2 separate regions of the Homo sapiens genome follow, and region 2 is linked to region 1. The links are contacts of gene promoters, found by promoter capture Hi-C in blood cells and fetal thymus (Javierre and others, 2016). All regions are on one chromosome and are shown on one strand. The core of a region is centred on a gene start or on the middle of the fragment in contact, and the rest is flanking DNA. Distances in the headings are between cores, read along the strand shown.

Region 1 (4,650 bases), core at 1,923-4,422:
TATCTGAGCAGCAGCCATCTCTCAGGCACCAGAGCCTGTCCAAGACCTTTGGTAAAACCATAAGCAGTGGGTACCAAGTCTCCCTCATACTTCCTTATTCCCAGACCTGCTCGGGTACTGCCATCACCCAAGGATCAAACTATTTCTACTTTCCTCACCCACCTCCCACCTATTGTCCCCCAGTTCCCCTTCACCTCCATTCAAATCTTTAGGCTCAAGGTTAAACAGGGATCAGCAAATTTTTCTGCAAAGGGCCAGAAACAAATATTTTAGGCTTTCCAGAGCCATACTTTGACAACTCCAGGTTAAGAACCAGAAGGACACCAGGTGACTCCAGCCTGCTACTTTAACTACATTATATGCTAAGTAAGATTTTGTTCACTGCTTTGGGAGCCTAATCACAATTCAAAGATAGTTTTCATAGGGAAATAAAACAGGAGTTTCAAACAGATTATCTTTAGATACAGTATGGTTGGATCTTACAAGGAAACAGGTTCTTCAATATAAATATTTTCCCGAGTGCATTAAAGAATATTTTCTGAATTGTAGGCAATTTTTAAAAACCATATCAGGTTTTAAATAAAAAGTAAAACAGAAGAAATAGTTTTTAACTGCTTAAACTTTCTTTCCAAAAGATCTGAGGAGCCAAAAAATCAGTGTTTATATAAAAGGAAGTGAAGGAGATCACTATAATACTTCCTTTGTTCTAAAACTTTCCTACACAAGGGAAGAAATATGACTTCAAAAATATACAGCAATAACCTTTAATCAGTAGAAGAGAAGGCACTTCCCATCTTCTAGATAAAGGGTGAACAAACTATATATGTCGCCAGTTTACATGAGGCCTGTGAACTCACGATTGTTTTACATTTTTAAATGGTTGATAAAAAATGTAATAACATCTTGTGATATGTGAAAATTGCAGGAAATTCAAATTCTAGTGTCCATGAATAGTTTTATTAGAACATAGCCATGCTCATTTGTTTCTAAATTATCCAGGCTACTTTTTTTTCCCTACAACAGCAGATCTGAGTAGTTATGACAAGAGACTATCCAGCCCTTCACAGGAAAAGTTTGCCATCTCATGTCCTAGATTATCAACACTTTCATAAATAAGAGAAGTTAGGGCTGATAAACTAAAAAGTACTTTATTTTAGCTACTGTACAGGTTCCTGATTCCAAAAACAACAAAGTGAATATTTAAACACTAAACCAAATATTGATAGCCTACAAACATATTCTGACTTATAATATTGTCATTAACTTGAAAAAATACCTTTTTGCATAGTGAGTATATGGGAATATATATTATATTCTTGAAAATAACTACTGATCTAAGTGGAAGGGTAATCAAATAAGTTTAGGTATGTGCAAAACAGATTGGGCTTTGACATGGAATACCAGTTTTTAAACGTATTTCAACTTTTAAATACTAAATGTTTTTAAGTACGATTTTCTCTGGCAGTTTAACATCAGACCAAACTATTTCTTGTTCACTCCATTCACAAATTCTCCAGTATAAAACTTCAGTTATTAGCAATTTCAATTATTTCAGGGTAACAGCAAAAGTCCATATGTAATCACTTCAAATTGGGCAAATAATTCAAATCACACCCAATGCCAGTAACTATAAAGCTAGCCCACAACTCAACTGGCAGCCACATCTTAACCCTGCATTGTTCCCTGCTTCTCACGAAATTCTATTAGCTCCCATATAGTGTTTGTGTGGAAATGTCCCCCAAAAGAAACTTACAGTTTAAAATGTTTTTTTTCGGTTATGTTTTACTATAGTTTATGGGGACATTATTTGTAATACTTAAGAACTTAGAAATTCTGTAAGTCCCAGATAAATCCTTTGTGGATATTCGGAAACTATGGAAACTGTAGTTTTGTTAGGATTACAATCAAGGCTCAACAAATATGTATTGGCAATAAGCCTAAACCTTTACATTGTTGCAGCTATTTCAAGTAATGATTTGACTTCTGTAATTTATAAGTTTTCGTTCGGATCAATTTTGCTATCCCCATTCCATTTTAGTTATCAAAACAATTCTATTTCTTTTTCTTTTATTTCCTGTGTTGCTACAAAAAAAGGCTTTTAAGATTGGACTTATTTGAAATGAAACAGAAAGAAGACATAAGAGAAGCATATGCAACTAAAGACAATGCCCCTGGGCAGGGCCTGATGAGAAACATGGACCCCGCAACAGGGAAAATAACTTGAAACCCACGCAAGAAGATATTCCTTATGTATTCGTTCAATATTTATTCAAGGGTGAAGCCAAGTGCTCTATGGAGGAAGGGTGGAGCAAGAATCCGGGTGTTGCCCAACTTCTCCTGGTTAATGCACCACAGTCAAAGAATCCACCTCTGGTCCCAACTTACACACACTGCTCAGCAAAAAGTGGTGCGGAGTCAATTAGACTCGCCCTCCTTAAATGTCAATTAGTCAACAAATACGCCTTCACCCGAATGTGCCATCCCTCAGGAGGAGGGAGGTGGATCTCAGCTTCCACCCCAAATAGCAGCATACAGCATTCTCTATAATTACACACAGCATACAGGTGGGAACTGTTAACGACTGTTATCTTCCTTTCGTTACGATTTCAGTGCTGTTTTGACGCCCCAGTGATGTCTTTAGTGGTTGTTGCATGGCCCAGCCGCCGCATGGGATCTGCGCCCGGAGCCTGCCTTTAAGCCTCTGAGCATCCACAGGGTAGGAGGCGCAGAGGAGACCGGAGCCGCGGGGCCAGGGTGAAGAACTGTCCTGCCTCGCTGGGTAATGCGGTCCAGCCCCGGACCCACGCCCTGGCCTCTCTCCGGGTCCGCCGCAGCCCCGGCCTGTCAGAATTCGGTTCCCACCCACTCCCAGCTAGTGGAGGTCAGTGCGGTCTCTGACTCCGACCTGCCCAGCGCGGAGTCAGCCGCGGAGACTGCAGCCGCAGCGGAAGGCAGGCTGCCCTGACTGCCGGGAGCGGCTCCACGCAAACTCCTGACGCCTCAGCCAGGCCCCAGAGGCACTGGGCAACCAGGGTGCTCCGCTGCCCGACAGGGGCTGACCAGCGCAGATGCTCGCCCGCCGCCGCCCCCCGCGGACTCCCCACTCCCAGCAGACCCAGTTCTCACCTCTCGGGGCAGCCATGGTTCCCCGACAGCCCCCCGCGGAACTGACGCCCGCCCCCTCCGCGCCCCCGCGCAGGACACCGGGGACCGCCCCTTGTGGTCATAGAGACGAAGCCGCTCGGCCTAGAGCGCCTCGCCGGCCTCCCGGTCGGCCACGCACTAAAACTGGGCTCAGGAATCCAAGCTACACCCCAAAATGGGGAGAACGCGGATCGAAGGGAGGCCTTCCCGGCCGCGTCCTAGGTGACAGGTGTGTGAAATTCGGTTGGGGAGGTAGTTCTGTAAACTGCGTCTCCCCGCCAGCTAAGGAAGTTGAGTGAAGGGAGCGTTGCCGTCTGGGAATCGTAGTCCTCACAAAGGCGTGAGTAGGCGGCAAATAAGGATTTGGGTTTAGCCTTGGGGATTCACTCCTGTCAAAGCTGTTAGAGAAGCTCCCAGAACTCGTAAAGTAACAGAAACTACTTGCGGCAACATTTGTAACTTCCACCTGGCTCATTATCTTCCACTGTTACCTTGTGTTCTAGATAAGTTATAATTTATTCTACATATCGTTCAGAAGTCTTGTGCCTGTTCCATATCGTCAGCAGTCATCGGTTGTATTTACCCAGCCAGGCATTCTAACTAATGATCTTCGCACAACAAAACGGCCTTTAAAAAATCAGATGTATCGGCCGGGCGTGGTGGCTCACGCCTGTAATCCCAGCACTTTGGGAAGTCGAGGCAGATGGATCACCTAAGGTCAGGAGTTCGAGACCAGCCTGGCCAATATGGCGAAACCCCGTCTTTACTAAAAATACAAAAAATTAGCCGGGCGTGGTGGCGCGCACCGGTAATCCCAGCTACTCAGGAGGCCGAAGCGGGAGAATCACTTGAACCCGGGAGATTGCAGTGAGCCGAGATTGCGCCCCTGCACTCCAGCCTGGGCGACACAGCGAGACTTCGTCTCAAAAAACAAAAAAAATTAGATATATCAACAGGCATTTTAACCACTATAATCTCCACTTTCACTAGGGGATGTTAATTAGCTATCATAATTGATATTAGAAATAATTCATTGGTGAAATAAATGATGTTCAAGATATGTGGATTGGTTTAAAATAATATGAAAATACCTCAGCACTTACAGGAATAGGGATGCAAGATTCTGAGCTGCCCAGCAGCCCACACCTTCTGCAGCATGTTCTTTCCCCAAAATTGTCCTTTTAGAGGGTTGGTTGTATACCATTGTCTTGTTAAATATACATATAGATATATCTGGTCTGTTAACATTGTTGGAACATTTTGCATGCCTTATTAGCATCATATTAATATTGGGAGGGGCTCCCAGGAGACCAGAGTTGACTTTGTAGAGGCAGACATTTGATTAATCTCATTTTGCAATAGTGTTGGACTTTTCCTCTACCTGGTAGTAAGTGTGCTCACTGGTGCTAATCTTCCCTTATTGTAATTGATACAGTTTCCACTAGTAGAATTATTCAGTTCTCTACTGTGTATGTACTTATGCATACATTTAAACAATATTCATAT
Region 2 (5,084 bases), core at 110-2,609, 350 kb after region 1:
TTTCACTCTAGAATTTTCATTCTCAAGGCGATTCAATACAGTCAGTTTTGGAATGCATGAAAGACATGTCTTTCTTTTGTAATTGAAAATGCAACTGTGAAAGGTGAGGGGAGATAGGAAGAAAGATAGGAAGAAAGAACAGGCATATACTAGGTCAAGTTTTCTATAACTAATGTATGCCTTCTTATTAGTGAACTTTTTGTTTGTTTGTTTGCTTGTTTTTGAGATAGTCTCACCCAGGCTGGAGTGCAGTGGTGCACCTTGGGAGGCTCGCTGCAACCTCCGCCTCCCAAGTCCAAGCGATTCTCCTGTCTCATCCTCCTGAGTAGCTGGGACTACAGGTGTGCACCACCAGCCCGGCTAATTTTTGTATTTTTAGTAGAGAGGACATTTCACCACGTTGGCCAGGCTGGTCTCGAACTCTTGGCCTCAATCAACCTGCCCGCCTCAGCCTCCCAAAGTGCTGGCATTACAGGCATAAGCCACCACATCTGGCCTTCTATTAGTAAACTTTGAAAGGTCAGTTGATACCTTGTGTGGTTCCAAAAAGGTTTTAACAGCTTAAAAAGCTACAAATAATAAAGCAAAATAAAATGAGGGAACCAGAGTAAATGGAACATCAGGGTTTAGGAACGCTTTTACACTGTTGGTGGGAATGTAAATTAGTTCAACAATTGTGGAAGACAGTGTGATGATCCCTCAAGGATCTAGAGCCGGAAATACCATTTGACCCAGCAATCCCGTTACTGGGTATATACCCAAAGGATTATAAATCATTCTACTATAAAGACACATGCACATGTATGTTTATTGCAGCACTGTTCACAATAACAAAGACTTGGAACCAACCCAAATGCCATCAGTGATAGACTGGATAAAGAAAATATGGCATATATACACCATGGACTATTATGCAGCCATAAAAAAGAATGAGTTCATGTCCTTTGCAGGGACATGGGTGAAGCTAGAAGCCATCATTTTCAGCAAACTAACACAGGAACAGAAAACCAAACACCACATGTTCTCACTCATAAGTGGGAGTTGAACAATGAGAACACATGGACACAGGGAGGGGAACATCATACACCAGAGCCTGTTAGGGGGTTGGGGGAAAGGGCGGGGAGAGCGTTAGGAGAAATACCTAATGCATGCAGGGCTTAAAACCTAGATGAAGGGTTGATAGGTGTAGCAAACCACCATGGCACATGTATACTTATGTAACAAACCTGCACATTCTGCACATGTATCCCAGAACTTAAAGTAAAAAAAGAAAAAAGAAAAAAAAAAAGAAAGTAACATAAAGCTAAGAGCAAGTTTGGAGCACAGAACATAGTGAGAGGCCCTTCATTCTCTTGTTAAGTTCAGGCCATAACTGTGAGTACAGTAGTCCCTTCTTACCCACGATTTCATTTTCCATGATTTAATACTAAAGTAAATCATGATTTGAAAATATCCAATGGAAAATTTCAGAAATAATTCATGCATTTTAAATTGTAGGCTGTTCTGAGCAGTGTGGTGAAATCTCCTGCCATCGCACTCTGTCCTGCCCGGGATGTGAATCATCCCTTTGTCCAACATAAACACGCTGTATATGCTACCTAGTCATTAGTCATTTAGTAGGCCACTCAGGTATTAGTTAGGAATGACTGGGAGCACAGTTCAGAATCCTAACAAGGCAGCCACCTCACCTCTGCACAGAGATGCCTGTGGCAACACCTTTGCAGAGGGCAAGATTCTTCTCCAAAAGTAATATGTGATGAGCTCTAAAACACAGATAAATGAGATCTCAGAAGGTCAAATTCCATCACTCTAATCATGTCCACAATTATTTTACCTTGGAAAAACTTTGGGCAACTATAATTGAACATTGGCCTTAGCCATAAAACTATTTCAGAAAAGGAACCACAGAGTGTATAACTTTAAGAAATATAATTTCCTGGTGAACATATTAAGTTAAAGTGTAAAATATTGATAATGGACTTATGGAGTTGTAAATTATGAACCAGTTTACTGTTGGGTAATAGTGAACAAAAATAATGGTTTAATTCTAGAGTACTTGGTCTCTAGCTCCTTTTTGGGAAGTAATGGGATAGGAAGGTTGATTCTCTCTTAAAGCCAATCTTGGAGTACTTGAAATAGAGGCATGTCATCTACATATAAAAGAATATCTTCCTTATTTTCAGAGTAGGGTCATATATCTAAATCATAGTGTCAAATAATAAAGGTAATGTAAAAGAGTGAATATTACAGATTCCTATTTTGCCTCAATGGAAATTGTTAGCTGATACATGAAGAAACCACTTCCCCACCTCCAGAATAATGCTTAAGCAAATGCAAATATATACAGATTCTAAATGGGCATCAAAAGCAAAACAAAACAAAATTTTAAAGTGAGTTTATTCACTGTGACCAATAATTCATTTTGTCCTCTAAGTCAAAGGAGTAGAAGATAAATGAAAGCCTAGAAAATTATTATATGATTTGTAACAGAGCCAGTAACACTTATCAATTGTTTCATTTGATCCTCTTGCATTTTCCAGCCCCCTTGTAGTTAGTGAGCTCATGTGACTAGCTTTGGTCAATAAAATGAAAGCCAAATTGATCTTCAGGCAGAGGTAGTAAAAAGTCTATGTATAATTTTCTAGTCTCTTTTTTCTCCTGATTGAGGAAGTTGTGTATTCCCTATGGGGCATCTACAAGTTGGTGGGCATTGGCCAACTTAGGTCTCTGAGTGACTACGTGGAGCAGGGACTTTTGCTGACCTGTAATAGACATGTATAATGAGCAAGAAATAAATTTTCACTATTGGCCAGGTGTGGTGGCTCATGCCTGCAATCTCAGCACTTTGGGAAGCTGAGGTAGAAGGACTGCTTGAGTCTGGGAGTTCGAGACCAGCCTGGCCAACATAGTGAGATTCTGCCTCTACAAAAAATAAAAAAGTTAGCTGGGCATAGTGGAAAATGCTGTAGTCCTAGCTACTCAGGAGGCTGAGGTGAGAGGATTGCTTGAGCCTGGGAGTTTGAGGCTACAGTGAACTGTGATCTTGCCACCATATTCCAGCCTGGGCTACAGAGCAAGACCTAGTCTCAAACAAAGCAAAACAAAACAAACAAACAAACAAAAACTTTAACTATGTTAAGACACTGAGAATTCAGGATTAATTTGTTACTACCATATAACCCAGTCTATTCCAACTAATACAGTTTTTGTAATAGATTTCTCCACAAGATAATAAGAGAGGTTAATAATGTTAATAAGGAAATAGCTTTATCTAAAGAATGCCTGATCCTCATGGTGAACCTTGGTTTGAGAATCCTAGCATTAGTTTAAAAAGCATGGAGCTAGAATACACATTGGAAGAAAGATATAATAAGCTAGTGGGTTAAAAAATTCCCCTTTACAAAATGGGAATAAAGCATTTCTGGGATCTAAACTCACAGGTTTATGTGTGTAAAGTTAATAAAGGTAAACAAGGTAGCATGCATTTAAAGCAATGCTTAAGGCATACCAATTCTAGGTCAGAAAATGTTGCGCTATTCTTTAATTCATTTAGGTTGTGCTTTTAAAGTGAGTATACTACATGTGAGAACAATGCTGATATCCAGTCAGAGAGCATTCTGGGAGGGGAAAAGTCTGAGTTTGGGTTTAAACCTTTGTAAAATGACGATAACATTTTCTATCTTTCAGGGTAGTTATGAGACATAATTATATCAACATGATACATACTAACTGCTTAGTCTATCTGAAGGAAAAACAAGCTTTCTTTTTTTCTTTCTGCTATACTGTCACAGTCAACACAGAACACTTATGTGACCAGATGTGTGAGGGGTTTCCCCCGCAACATATCCAACAGACACCAGCTGGGTGTCCTATGATTCAATTCAATTCTGACACTATCTATCTGGAGATCTCACAGGCTAAGAGCTCAGCCCACACTTCAGATGCCAATTACAAGCAATAGGTTATCATGTACACTCCTAACCAACTTTGTATAACCTGAGGTTCCCATGCTTCTCCTCCTTGGGTTTAACAAATTTGCTTGGATGTGTCAACCTAAATAACACACAAAAAGAGGCTCTCTAAGAGAAAAAGATATTTATGTGGGGATAGAGCATTGTAATGGGAATATGCATGCCATAGTAAATTATGTGCATATTCAAGGATGTAAAGGAAGACAAAGGTTTTTAAAGTAAAAAAATGAGGGGGATTACATCATTGTTTTGAAATAATTATACTTAGCTAGAAGGATCAAAGACAAGGGTGACACCGGTCTGAGGTTGAGCAAGCAGTTGCTGGGCAGATGTCCTTGCAGAAGCCTTTTTTTGTGTATGGTTGTGATGGTCTTATGCAAAGAGGTAGTTTTTGCAGAGTCTTTTGTGATAGCTTTTGTTATTATCAGATATAAAAGCATGAAAACCTCTCTTCATGGCTCTATTTGTCAGGCTTTTTGTTTGTTTAAACGTTAGTGACTTCATTTTGATTCTGATAACTTTCACATTTCCTCCTTTCGGTCAAGATCTTTGTCCAAAAGCATCACTCACTGATCAATCATCCTGTAGGTAGGTCTTAATGTCCCTTGGTGCTGGGATAAACCTGTCCTGGTTGTGGGGAGTGATTGGTGACTAGGAGTCAGTGTCAAAACCCTTTTAGCCATGTTTTAGCAATAAAGAAGGTTTGAAGGGAGTGGCTCTCAGGTTAAGTCTACCAGGAATCCATTATTAAGTTTAATTTTGTTTTTTCTGTAGCATTTTGTTATCATCTCAAAGTGCTGGGCCTTCTCTTTTTGTTAGGAGTTGTACTTCTGCAAAAATTTAACAAGTAACGGACACAAAGTTTAAAAAGGGAACATACAAAGTAAAATTAATAGTAATATGACAGTTGTAGTTTGCATAATGATTTTGAGCCATGAACCTAGGCTTAAAGATAACAAATTGAATACATCAAATTACCATAGAGAATTAAGTGAGACCTGTTGTAACCATGTGGCCTGTTTTCTTATTTTGTGTACATGGGTCTCAACTTTTCCGCAGAAATTTTTCCAGGTACAGCCTGTAGTATTGGCAATAGCACAGACATTTTCTTAT

Evidence for each region. The method cuts DNA at HindIII sites, captures the fragments that hold promoters and counts their contacts. A CHiCAGO score of 5 or more calls a contact.
Region 2: a contact is called between a fragment that was not itself captured here and the fragment with the promoter of SLC35A1 in region 1, in 1 of 17 cell types (activated CD4 T cells). The highest score is 5.5, in activated CD4 T cells.

What each region holds. Positions count from the first base shown.
Region 1 is chr6:87,471,496-87,476,145 of GRCh38, reverse strand. SLC35A1 (solute carrier family 35 member A1) reads right to left here and starts at 3,172. Exons shown (of 8, transcript NM_006416.5): 1 at 3,127-3,172. The coding sequence starts at 3,142. LOC124901357 (a long non-coding RNA gene) reads left to right here and starts at 3,201. Exons shown (of 2, transcript XR_007059668.1): 1 at 3,201-3,373; 2 at 3,648-4,650. RefSeq lists enhancers at 2,304-2,403, 2,454-2,623, 2,619-3,525 and a silencer at 3,074-3,213. The HindIII fragment of the contact is 12,962 bases long and covers 1-4,650 here.
Region 2 is chr6:87,114,760-87,119,843 of GRCh38, reverse strand. No RefSeq gene overlaps it. Among named protein-coding and RNA genes, the nearest start is that of CGA, 22 kb to the right of the region's middle. The HindIII fragment of the contact is 4,802 bases long and covers 1-3,760 here.